2 separate regions of the Homo sapiens genome follow, and region 2 is linked to region 1. Evidence: promoter capture Hi-C in 16 types of primary human blood cells and fetal thymus (Javierre and others, 2016). All regions are on one chromosome and are shown on one strand. Each heading gives the region's core, a stretch centred on a gene start or on the middle of the fragment in contact. The rest is flanking DNA. Distances are from core to core; before and after follow the strand shown. Region 1 holds the start of SPTY2D1 (SPT2 chromatin protein domain containing 1). Region 2 overlaps NUCB2 (nucleobindin 2).

Region 1 (6,683 bases), core at 1,684-4,183:
TAACTGGGCGTGGTGGTGCACCCCTGTATTCCCAGCTACTCAGGAGGCTGAGGCAGGAGAATGGCTTGAACCTGCGAGGCGGAGCTTGCAGTGAGCCAAGATTTCGCCACTGCACTCCAGCCTGGGCAACAGAGACTCCATCTCAAAAAAAAGAAAAGAAAAGAAAAAGCTTTATTTCTTTTAAAATAGATAACAAAAAAAAAAAAAAAACCACCAAACACTTTATTTCTTTTAAAATAGATGGCAAAAAAAGAAAAAAAGCTTTATTTCTTTTAAAATAGATGGAATAAATATGGGGAAATGTTAATATGCTAAATACGGGGTTTGGGTATATTAGAAATGTGTTAACATTCCTTATGTTTGAAAGTGTCCAAATTACTTTAAGCTGATAAGGAAAAAGTAAATAGAACAGTTAGATGAATCAAGTTAAAGCAAATCAAGTAAAGCATGAAATTTGGCCGGGTGTGGTGGCTCACACCTGTAATTTCAGCACTTTGGGAAGCCGAGGTGGGCGAATGACTTGAGGAAGGAGTTCAAGACCAGCCTGGCCAACATGGTGAAACCCTGTCTCTACCAAAAATACAAAAGTTAGCTTGATGTGGTGACAGGTGCCTGTAGTCCCAGTTACTCAAGAGGCTGAGACAGGAGAATTGCTTGAACTCAGCAGGTGGAGGCTGCAGTGAGCCGAGACCATGCCACTGCACTCCAGCCTCCAGCCCGGACGACAGAGTGAGACTCTATCTTAAAAAAAAAAAAAAAGAAGAAGAAGAAATTTAACTACAGTCTTATCCTATTCCTCAATAGTTTCTTTTGTGACTTTAATTCCACATAAAAAGATAAGAATTATAATGCTGGTAACTAAATCAAACTTCTAGGCTTACTAGCTTTGGCGGGGAGAGGTCAGAGAATGCATGATTCATAAAATATATGGCTATATTATCTATTGATTTTTTTTTTTTTGAAATGAAGTTTTTCTCTTGTTGCCCAGGCTGGAGTGCAATCGCACGATCTCAGCTCACTGCAATCTCCGCCTCCTGGGTTCAAGCAATTCTGTCTCAGCCTCCCAAGTAGCTGGGATTACAGGCGCACACCACCATGCCCGGCTAATTTTTGTATTTTTAGTAGAGATGGGGTTTCATCATATTTGTCAGGCTGGTCTCAAACTCCTGACTTCAGGTGATTCTCCCGCCTAGGCCTCCCAAAGTGCTGGGATTACAGGCCTGAGCCATTGCGCCCATCTATTAAATTTTAAATTACTTTTTTCCCCTTTTTGATTCTTCTGTTATTCCAATCATAGATAATGCATATATTATGACATATACACATATTTTGAAATTTTCTGCTTTAGGATTATCTGTCTGCTTTTCTCCCAGCAGCTACTGGCTTTCAGAATAAGAAATGACTTAGTTCTGATTCTTCCACAGAACAGTACTGGGCATCAAAGCTAGTACTATCTTTGACCTTTACTGAAATTCAATAAGATCTAGAATGAAATACAGACCAAATTATGCAAAGATGAATGGTTACTAGACCCAATATTGATTCATCTGGAAAATTTACAGATGCTTCTAGAAAGTAAATCTGTTGATCTGGGTTTCAAAGGTTTGAGTCTATACCTTCAACATGCAAAGCTTATGACTCACGGCTTAGAGGAATGGTTATTCAGAGTTCTTGGGATAAGGGATGGCTGTGTGTGTGTATATATACATATATTTATAAACATAAATATAGACCTTTTTCAGATCAATATTTTCAAAGGGATAAAAGAATGAACTAGCCTCAGAAGACAAAAAAAAGCTGCAGAAGAGAAAAAAACGAATATTGCAATATACGAATATCTAGGAAATGCAGAGCACTTCGTCGGAGCTCAATAAATTCTAGCTGAATTGACTTTGAGAGCCGTTTTAGTTCTATACCTCACTGCTCAAACCGCAGGCATCACCATGCAACTTATCGGTTTACAGCTGTGCTGTGGGTACCATCTGAAAATCTGGAAATGATTAGCTTATGCAAAACAGCCATAACCCCCAGAAACCAGGCGCTCTCCACCACTTTACCATTTAAGTCTTACACCGCTCTTGCGACTGTAAGCGAACTGACAAACATCTACTGACCAAATGGGACCTAGATTTTAAACAAAGACTGAAATCTGGAAGGCTACAAGTAAACAGAAGCTGAAACTAGCTCACCTATTCTGTTGGCCAAGGATTTCGTGGAATCTGCTAAACTTCTCTTCCCAAAAGATGATACCTATCCCCTGGGAGGTGATAATTTAATCACCTCGGTGGCTGAGTGGGTGGGGCCGAGTCAGAGAATTCTTTCAAGAAATCGCTAAACGTTTGACTTGAAGATCGATGAGAAGCCAGCCAAAAAGCTATCAAGCCAAGGACCCCAAACCCCCTAACTCCCTTACATACATATTTCCTTCCCAATCTCTAGGCTGAAGTTTATGTGGAAGCCAAAAACTACCAGCGCTAGAATCCACAGCGTGCCAGGCACAGCTCACTCACGGCTTTCACGCAATTCTAGCTACAACACCCAAACCGCAAAGTCCCTGTTGCAGGGGTAAATAAGCCGGCGAAACCCATTCACAGGAAGGCTCCCGCGTCTCGTCCCAAGCTCTTTTCTCCCGAGTTCCCAAGAGTATAAACCCAAGAAAAGGAAATAAGGCGTCCGGGTCTTTCCTCTCCCGGAGCCGATAGGCGGCTGCCCAGAAGTTCCATGGGCCACACACATTCCGAACTTGGAAGACTAGGGTCCCCTACATTGATGCCCCAGCTGCTACTTACCGGCACATTGTTGACACCTTGTCCCTTGGAAGCTATCATGAGAATTTCTCTGAAGTCCATGTTGGGCCGAGGCGGGAGAGACTGGGCCAGGCACTCGGAAAGGACTGACAGCGCACCTAACCGAGGCGCCCAGCTACAGCCAACTGCACTGCCTCGGGAGCCCCACTCCCACCCCGCCTCTGCGGGACCACTTCCGGCGCCTTCCTATGCCGTCTGCCCGCCCCCTTCCCTCCACGGCCTATATCCTTTCAGGGCCGCCACAGCGCTCGCGAGTCCCTGCGTAACTTCCGCTTTTAGGCCGAGACACGTACAAACGTGATACGTGGCTGCTGGCGTCGACCCGAGGGGCAGGGACTAGGCATTTTAGCAACCAAGGGGGTGTGGCTAAGCGAGAGAGCGGCTTCCCTGGTGGCCCGGGCGCGCGGTCTTGTCATCTTGTTGCTCCTTGTGAGCGCTGGGTAGAGAAAGTGAGGGGGTAGAGGGTTTACTTGCCAGGCCTGGGTTCTCTGGGTGTCACGGGTAGGCGCTTAGATCCAAAACGGCGGCGCCACAACAGCTGAACAGACGGATCTCGAGCCGGGGTTTGGGCTACTTGTGTCTAGGCGCTCGCGAAGCTGCGCAGGCGCACACAGCAGCGCCGTGGTCCTGTCTTGGATGCCCATTACTCATCAAATTCGGCCACATGCCGTGCGCTTACCTCCTACTCAGATGCACGCGTGCCGGGGATGGGGGCACGCGCTTACTTCTTTTGCCCCGTTTAGAAAGTAAGTTTTATGTGGAGCAGCCAACCTGTGTTTTTGCTCAGGCAATGGATTAAGGAATTTCACATACAGACCCAGCCTTGACATAACTTTGGTGTACTGATGAACATATGCTTCATATTCATATTCATTGGGATCCTAGTCCTGACTTCTTTTGGAGAGTTATCTTGGATCTGTAAGGTCATTTCGACTTAGCAAAAACACTGAAAATAATTAGGCAAACCTGGGTCTGCAAGTGGGAACCCGCCAGGGGATTGATAGCAAACAGGTACTCGGGATCTTTTCGGTGGGATGGAAATGCCTCCAAACTGGATTGTGGGGATGGTTGCACTATACATGTACTAAAAATCGTACACTTAAGACGGGTGAGAATGATACAGTATGTAAATATGTCAAGCTGTTAAAACATGCTAGACAGGCCGAGCGCGGTGGCTCACGCCTGTAATCCCAGCACTTTGGGAGGCCGAGGCGGGCGGATCACGAGGTCAGGAGATCGAGACCATCCCGGCTAAAACGGTGAAACCCCGTCTCTACTAAAAATACAAAAAATTAGCCGGGCGTAGTGGCGGGCGCCTGTAGTCCCAGCTACTTGGGAGGCTGAGGCAGGAGAATGGCGTGAACCCGGGAGGCGGAGCTTGCAGTGAGCCGAGATCCCGCCACTGCACTCCAGCCTGGGCGACAGAGCGAGACTCCGTCTCAAAAAAAAAAAACAAAAAACATGCTAGACAAAGCTGCTGGCTCTTACTCTTTGATGGTTTAATGCTGCGAACGTAATTCAAAATCAAAGCTGTTGGAACTTTAAGTTATTTTGCGCCTTAAAAGAATGTTATTATGGAACCTGAGCTACATAACAGGCAGCTGCGTTTGTTCCTCTGATTATAGATTAGCCTTTCTTTCCTACATCGTTTTGTGAAAACACAGGGAGAAGACAGCCATGTACAAACCAAGGAGAGAGACCTCAAGGTAACCACACCTTGATCATGGAATTCTAGCCACCAGAATTGTTAAGACAATAAATGTCTGTTGTTTAGGCCACCTAGTCTGTGGTACTTTGTTATTGGCAGCCCTAGCAAACGAATACACTGGCATATGGTGTTTTCAATTAATGCCAACCATCATTTCTCAAGGAAGCTCTTCCTGAGCTATCTCAGGGCCCCTTTTATAAATTCTTACAGCCCCCCAGTATTTCCCTTCATGCAACATTTTACAGTTTGTAATTACATATTTGTTCTTTTTTTTTTTTAAACTATTGGCTATATCTGTGATAGACAGAGCTATGAAAATGGGCATAAGCCTATTTTACCCATCACTATTTCCATCACCAGCACAGTTCCCTGCTAATGCACATAAAAGTTGCAACAAAGATTTTTTGACCAAATTAATGAATCGATAAGTGGAAAGCTCCCAAGATTCAATATTGTAGTACTTAGCATACATTGAGCCATTACTATATGCTTAGTGCTTGACATGGATTATCTGACTTGATCATGAGTGTTGTATAAGGCATTTCCTGTTACTGTTTTATAGATGAAAAGCTGAAGCTTGAAGAGATGAAATTAGACTTATACTGTACCATTAGTCAATCGGAGAGCCAAGACTAGAACCCTTAGATTACCCAAACCAGACTCTATATTTCAGTTAGCCCATTTGAACTGGTACAAGTCTATGTACATGGAGTTATAATGTAAAAAAGGGCTTGGATTAGGTAACTAATACCTAGTTAGTCAAAATCAAGAACAACTGCTGGAGGTGGGAATGAGGTAAGGAATGAGAGGAGCAATTTTCCTGTATCCTTGTAAAACATTCTATCATCGAGTTCAGCAAATACTTCCTGGGAAACTACTACTGTGTGCCCAACCTTATGGATGATACAAAGAAAGACCCATATCCTGCCTGCCTGATCAGAACTTTTAATTCTTGTGTGAACACAAGTAACAATTATGTAAAACAGAAAGTGCTAACTGTATTAGGGATACAAAGTGTGGGGAATAGCGTTGCCAGATTTAGCAAATAAAAATGTGGACATCCAGTTAGGATCTTGCTCTGTCACTCAAGCTGGAGTATGGTGGTGCAATCACGGCTCACTGCAACCTCGACCTGGGCTCAAGCCATCCTCCCACCTCAGCCTCCCAAGTAGCTGGGACCACAGGTGTATGCGACCACGCCTGGTTAAATTTTGTATTTTTTGTAGAGATGAGGTTTCACCATGTTGCCCAGGCTGGTCTTGAACTTCTGAGCTCAAGTAATCTGCCCGTCTGGGATTCCCAAATTGCTGGGATTCCCAAATTGCTGGGATTATAGGCATGAGCCACCATGCCCAGCCCATCCAGTTAAATTGGAAAGACATACACCAAAAATCATTTGTTGTTTATCTGAAATTCAACTTTAGGTGTCTTGTATTTATCTGGCAACTCTAGAAGTGTTGGAATTCCAGCTACAACATTACATTTAGAGAGTGTGAAAAGCACATTAAAGGGTTGAAAGAACAAGTAGTGGGTGTATTTAGGAGAATGCTAGGAAATAAAGGTCAGAAAAGTAAGTGAAGGTCGGGCGAGGTGGCTGACACCTGTAATCCCAACACTTTGGGAGGCCGAGGCAGGCGGATTGCCTGAGGTCAGGAGTTCGAGAACAGCCTGGCCAACATGGCAAAACCCTGTCTCTACAAAAATACAAAAATTTGCTGGGCATGGCGGTGGGTGCCTGTAGTCCCAGCTACTTGGGAGGTTGAGGCAGCAGAATCGTTTGAACCCGGGAGATGGAGGTTGCAGTGAGCCGAGATCATACCACTGCACTCCAGCCTGGGTGACAGTTAGACTCTGGGCATGAGGAAGGACAGGTGAGTGTGATACTTCAGGATACTTGGTGATGAAGAAAAGGCGAGTGATATGCAATAACCAGGGTGGTGGGTAGAGGCTGTTGGTAAAAAGGTAAACTCGGGTAGTATGAACCAGAAAGAATGGAATGAACTGGGTCTTTGCCAACCGCAGGTCCAGGCTCTGCTGTGGAAGGGCTGTGTGTCCTTAGGCAAGTTTCTGTTTTGTACTTTTTGATGTATGGCACAGTATTTGAATATAAGGTTTGATGTAAAAAATTTTCAAACAAAAAAATAACATAAAGCTCCCATCAGCCTCCC
Region 2 (6,683 bases), core at 1,301-3,800, 1.4 Mb before region 1:
AATATGAGGGAATGAGAATGAACGGGAACCATTATGATTTTTGAGAGACAGAACCTCTTGAAATTCTATGTCTGCTAAACTTCTAAATTGAATAATGTACATTTTATGCAATTGAATAAGCTAGTGCTACCATTTAAGCCTGCTACTAAGGCTCTGTTAAATCCGTGGACGAATATGAACACTAAAAGATATTACCTTGGTTTAAAAATAGGGGAGGTTAAATGCAAATATTTCTGATAGTGAATTTTGTTTGAGGGAGATTGTGGACTTTCCCTATGGGAAAGTTAAAGAATTGATGAGATAGATGCTTTAAGGAATGTTTTTGTTTTTTGAAACTTGAATAAGTTCAACAAATGTTGAACAAATATTTCAACAAATCTTCTTCAGCTAATAGGGTCAAAAATTAAAATTCTGGAAATTTAGAATTAGAAATGAAATCTCAAATAATGTCACTCTCCTAATTAGGATGAACATGGAAACTTCTATTTCTCATCGTGGTCTTCAAGCTTTCCATGATCTCATCTACCTTTGTAGTAGGGGGTCAAATTTTTTTTTTAACTAGACAATTTTAGAAACTTAAAGGAGGCAAAAATTTATTTCTGTCTCCGTGTGTTTACTCATGCTCTTCTCTATCCAAATTTTACCCATCTTTTTTTTTTTTTTTTTTTTTTTGAGATGGAGTCTCACTCTGTCACCCAGGCTGGAGTGCAATGGCCCGATCTCAGCTCACTGCAGCCTCCGCCTCCCGGGTTCAAGGGATTCTCCTACCTCAGCCCATCGAGTAGCTGGGATTACAGGGACCCACCACCACAGCCAGCTAATTTTTTGTATTTTTATTAGAGACGAAGTTTCACCATGTTGGCCAGGCTGGTCTCGAACTCCTGACCTCAGGTGATCCACTTGCCTTGGCCTCCCAAAGTGCTGAGATTACAGGTGTGAGCCACCGTGCCTGGACGACCCATGTTCTAAGAGTCGAATCTGTCTATGTTGTGTTTACCTTTCTTTGCTCTCCCAAGGTACATATTGTTCATATCACGTATTTTGTATATATTCTTTCAGCATGCTTTTTGCCAAGTTGGTTTGCGCTCTGTGAATAACAGTTGAGATAAAATGCACAATTAAGACAATTAAGGTACTTTTCAAGACACAACTAATTATGGGCACTAATATCAATAACATCAATTCAGATGTCTTTTTTGTTTTGGGATATGTTATTAATCTCTGAACACATACTAAACTAATTTTGCATTACTTAGAATAATATGTAAATTACTTTCCACTTTCTAAGGACCCTTTTGAAGGCTGGGTTCTACAAAATACCCTTTTGAGTACTGGGTAGCTGGCAGAAGCAAGTGCAGGATTTAAAAATGTATTGAAAATAATCCTTTAGGCCGGGCATGGTGGCTAATGCCTGTAATCCCAGCACTTTGGGAGGCTGAGGCGGGTGGATCACTTGAGTCCAGGAGTTCAAGACCAGCCTGGCCAACATGGTGAAACCCCGTCTTTACTAAAAATACAAAAATTAGCCAGACGTAGTGGCGGGCATCTGTAATCTCAACTACTCAGGAGGCTGGAGCAGGGGAATCGCTTGAACCTGGAGGCGGAGGTTGCAGTGAGCCGAGATCGCGCTATTGCACTCCAGCCTGGGCAACTAGAGTGAAACTACGTCTCAAAAACAAAACAAAAAACAGGCTACTAACAATTTCAAATAATTTATTCAAGGAAAAACTTCAATCACTTTCATTATTTCCAATCAAAAATTTTTTTTACAACCATGATGTGGTGAAAAGTATACTTAGTTAGAATTTCATGGCCAGATTCCAGTACGGGCTCTGCCAAACGAACTTGGCCAAGTCAGTTAACTTCCTTCTGTATTTATAACCTTTTATAAAAGTAGGGCTGAATTAGATTACAGTAGTCCTCCTTTATCCTAGAGGGATATGTTCCAAGGGTCCCAATGGATGCCTGAAACTACAGGTAGTACCAACCCTTATATACGCTATGTTTTTTGCTATACATACATAATAATAAAATGAATAACAGTAATACACTGAAATGAAAGTTATATGAATGTGATCTTTCAAAATATCTTGTTTTACCTCAGGTAATTGAAACTGCAGAAAGTGAAATCGCAGATTAGGGAGGACTACTGTACCTCCAAGATTATTTCTGATCTTAGAATTCTCTGATTCTAAAATCCTAAAGCAGCCTAATAGAAGTTCAGATAGTAGTTACTTGATTTTATTTTTGGCAGAGCATTTTTTTTTTTTTTTTTTTTTTTTGAGACAGGGCCTCACTCTGTTGCCCAGGCTGACTGGAGTACAGTGGTGTGATCATGGCTCACTGCAGCCTGGAACTGCCAGGCTCAAGTGATCCTCCTACCTCAGCCTCCTGAGTAGCTAGGACTAAAGGAGCATGCCACCACACCCTGCTAATTTTTAAGTATTTTTTTGTAGAGAAGAGGCCTCGCCATGTTGTCCAGGCTGGTCTCAAACTTCTAGGCTCAAGCGATCTGCCTGTCTTGGCCTCCCAAAGTGCTGGAATTACAGGCATGAGCCACTACACCTGGCCTTGGCAGAGTTTTTTTTGGCAGTGTATTTTAATTATCTGAAGTACAGTATATGTAAATAATAAAGAGATTATAATTTTAATAATATGTTTATTGAGTGATACAGATCTGTTTTTCATAAGCCTATAATCTAGGATACTCCAATCCGTTGTTAAGACTGGAAAAAAAGGAGATATAATAGTTTCATTGATGAGTGTCCTTTTCTACAGATGTAGACAACAGAGGCTCTAAGATCTATACTAATGTCTTGATCAGGGAAAAGCTGGAGTCCAACTCAGCTGGTCATACACTTGATATTTTATTTGAACCTCACTTTCCTGTTGACTTTCATTTTCAAAGGGAAAATGGAGGTGAGCACCAGGTTATCTGTGGCCTTTGAAACTGGTGCCATGGAGAAACTCAAAAGCCGTTTATTTTTCTTCACCCTACCCTGTTTCATCATTAGATTTGTGACATTGATAGTAAGAAGAAGCAATCCACGTTTCCTAGCTCAAGGCAGTGTCTTAGAGAAGGAAACCTGAGTCTCTTGCTACAGTTCTGATTTAAGGTTGGAAGGAAGAGATTATGTTGGATGCATTGCTTTCATTGGTCTATGATTGCATCAGGACTTTGGTTCTGGCAATGTTCAGAGAAGAGCTCTAATGTGGCCTTTCAAAAATGACTGTAAGACCGGGCATGATGGCTCAGGCCTGTAATCCTTGGACTTTGGGAGGCTAAGGTGAGCAGATCACTTGAGCTCACAGGTTTGAGACCAGCCTGGGCAACATGGTGAAATCCCATCTCTACCAAAAATATTAAAAACTAGCTGGGCGTGGTGGTGCGTGCCTGTAGTTCCAGCTACTCTGGAGGCTGAGGCGGAAGGATGGCTTGAGCCTGGGAGGTGGAGGTTTTGATGAGCTGAAATAGCGCCAATGTACTCCAGCCTGGGTGGTAGAGTCAGACCCTGTCTCAAAAAACAAAAACGAAAACAAAAATTACTTTTAAAGTTGTATGTCAAACTGGTCTTGCTTGCTTTTTGTGTCGTTAATTTTTATTTATTTATTTTATTTATTTTTTTTAGACAGGGTCTTTCTCTGTCATCCAGGCTGGAGTACATTGGTATGCATGGCTCGACCTCCTGGGCTCAAGCAACCCTCCCATCTCAGCTTCCTGAGTAGCTGGGACTACAGGTGCACACCACTACACCCAGCTAATTTTTTGATTTTTTTTTGTAGAGGTGGGGTTTCACCATGTTGCCCAGGCTTGTTTTGAACTCCTGGGCTCAAGTGATCCACCCGCCTCAGCCTTTCAAAGTGCTGGGATTATAGGTGTGAGCCACCATGCCCAACCTGGTCTTGCTTTTTAAGTTCTACCACTTTGGGTGTTTACAGAACAGATTTTCATATTTCTTTATGTTTCCTTTTCAAGACAAGAAGGGCATTAATATTTATTGAGCAATTACCATTGTCATGCACTGTGCTGGTTACTTTGTATTCATTCTTATTTTCCTCGCATCAACAAACCTGTGAAGAGGTATGAGCTCAGTTTTCTAGGTAGGAAAATCAAGACTCAGAGGCAAGTAGCTTGCGAGTAAATGGGGGAAGTTAGGATTTAATCTCCTGTTTGTGTGTTTATTTTTTACCATGTTGTGTCAATAAAAGTCATATAACTTTCCAAAATACAACATGCATGTGATTACTCTCCTGCATAGATTATTTTATGTTAAATATACCATATGTAAAACAAGAAATACATGTCTCCTTAAAATTTGAAAATATTTTATTTGCTTTTTTTTTTAACAGACTACTTAGAAATAACTGCTTATGTTTACTAATGAGTTTGCACATGAGCTGATTTATGTTTTACATGTTATTTGGTGGGGTTTCAAAAAAGAATTTGAAATATTTCATCTTATTACTGATCTCTGTGACAAACTAGGAACAAAGTTAATTTTTTTAAATTGGTGGTAAGAGTAAAGAAAAATTCCAGTTAAGGATTTAACAGGAAAAGTTGCCCTATATCTTGAAGTCTCATTGCTGAAAAAAATAAGCTTTTAATCTGAATTCCTCCTAGTTATTCAAGAGTGGAGGAATACAGGAAAATTTGGGCATAATAAATCTATATCTATATCTATATATCTATATCTATATCTATCTATCTATCTATCTATATATATATATATATATATATTTTTTTTTTTTTTTCCCAAGACAGAGTCTCGCTCTGTCACCCAGGCTGGAGTGCAGTGGCATCATTTCGGTTCACTGCAACCTCTGCTTCCCAGGTTTAAGCGATTCTTGTGCCTAAGCCTCTTGAATAGCTGGAACTACAGGCACCTGCCACTATGCCCGGCTAATTTTTGTATTTGTTTAGTAGAGATGGGGTTTTACCACATTGGGCAGGCTGATCTTGAACTCCTGACCTCAGGTGATCTCTCCACCTCGGCCTCCCAAAGTGCTGGGATTACAAGCAGGAGCCACCGTGCCCGGCCAACATCTTTGTTTATTCCGGTTTTTGATTCTGTTTATTTCATGTATCTTTCTCCCCTCCTTAATGGAATATGATATAATTTAGTCTCCTTCCACATCATAAAAATTTGGCACTTTTCACATTATGTGACAAATGCATACACTATCATGTACCATTACCACTGTAAAAAGTCTAAATTTTGTGATTTTGTGTCTTTTATTTATTTATTTTTATTTTTTTTTACATTTAGAACGTGTTACGAGTCAGTTTTTAGTGAAAAAACATTGAGCTAGGAGCCAAGACCCATCTCTTCACTATTTTGGTATTGTGCAAGTCATCTTACCTCTCTGGATCTCAGTTGTCTCATCTGTAAAAAGGAGATAAAAATTATTTACCTGCCTGAACGTAAGTACTCAATAATTGCATTTGGTTGCAAAGAAACATGACTATCACTACCACCACCACCAAAATACAAAAAAGGAAAAACCAAAAACGAACTCACAGATGGCTTAAACATGCAATATTTATTTTTTATATAAAATAATAATTGAAATAGCACTCTAGGATGGGTATAGTGGCTTTATAAAGTCATCAGAGACTTAAGCTTCTTTCAGTTCTTTTATCAGTGATCCCTAAGACATTCTTGTAGTACTGGTTCTTGTATGTCCAAGATAGCTGCCAGAGCTCTAACCATCACTGTCATGTTCCAGGCAGCAAAGCATAGGCGAAGAAAGATGCATCCTCTTCCTTTAAGGAGAATTCCTGAACCAAGGCTGAGGCTATAAGAAAGCAGGGAAATGTAGCTGACTGCATGTCTGCCCTCTATAAAATTGGGCTTTTGTTACTGAGAAGGAAGGAAAGATTTGGATATTGGCAAGCAAATAGAAGTGTCTGCCATGATATGAATCTTTTTATCTTTCAGCTCTGAAATCTGTAAGCTGTGATAACCACTCATAGAAGCTTCTATAATTTGCCATGGCAGAGATATAAGTCTGACTATTAACTACAGAAGGAAATAATCTTCATGTAATAAATTGTGTTTCTGTTTTTACTTTTAGCCCTTAATTCATTATAGAAGCTTTTCTGTCTTATTTGTGGATTTGTTCTGGTTATTTTTTAAAATTACCCATAAATGCTCAATAGATGTTTGTTGTACATTTTATGGTTGTGTTAAAAAGAGCTAACATTTATTGAGCTACTTGCTATAATCAAGGCACTAAAATGACAGAGATAAGTTATCCCAAGGGTATCACATAACTAATCATCAGGAAGTAAATTTATATTGAAAGTAAATATAATTCATCTCAAGATACATTTCACTATGGTCACATGAGGAACACTTGCCTTCCTTGCTAGCTAAAAGTAGTTTGTTCTTTTTCTTTCCTTTCTTCTTTTTTTAACCACTTAACTGTTAGTTGTCTTGAAATTTTCTCTTACTACTAGTTCTTGCTTAACTTATTTAGCCACACCAATATTTTATTTCCTTCCAGACTTTTATTTTTTTTGTTGAGACGGAGTCTCACTCTTTCACCCACGCTGGAGTGCAATGGCTTAGTGCAACCTCTGCCTCCTATGTTCAAGCGATTCTCCTGCCTCAGCCTCCTCAGTAGCTGGGACTACAGGCATCCACCACCACACCCAACTAATTTTTGTATTTTTAGTAGAG

The links. The method cuts DNA at HindIII sites, captures the fragments that hold promoters and counts their contacts. A CHiCAGO score of 5 or more calls a contact.
Region 2: a fragment that was not itself captured here is called in contact with the fragment with the promoter of SPTY2D1 in region 1 in 1 of 17 cell types (total CD4 T cells); the score reaches 6.1 in total CD4 T cells.

The regions. Positions count from the first base shown.
Region 1 is chr11:18,631,409-18,638,091 of GRCh38, forward strand. SPTY2D1 (SPT2 chromatin protein domain containing 1) reads right to left here and starts at 2,934. Exons shown (of 6, transcript NM_194285.3): 1 at 2,790-2,934. The coding sequence starts at 2,849. It overlaps LOC105376578 (a long non-coding RNA gene), which reads left to right and starts at 2,941. Exons shown (of 2, transcript XR_931097.3): 1 at 2,941-3,553; 2 at 4,472-4,585. RefSeq lists a silencer at 1,919-2,098 and an enhancer at 3,155-3,424. The HindIII fragment of the contact is 3,460 bases long and covers 1,630-5,089 here.
Region 2 is chr11:17,277,522-17,284,204 of GRCh38, forward strand. It overlaps NUCB2 (nucleobindin 2), which reads left to right. Exons shown (of 14, transcript NM_005013.4): 2 at 5,268-5,422. Among named protein-coding and RNA genes, the nearest start is that of NUCB2, 4.1 kb to the left of the region's middle. The HindIII fragment of the contact is 4,092 bases long and covers 505-4,596 here.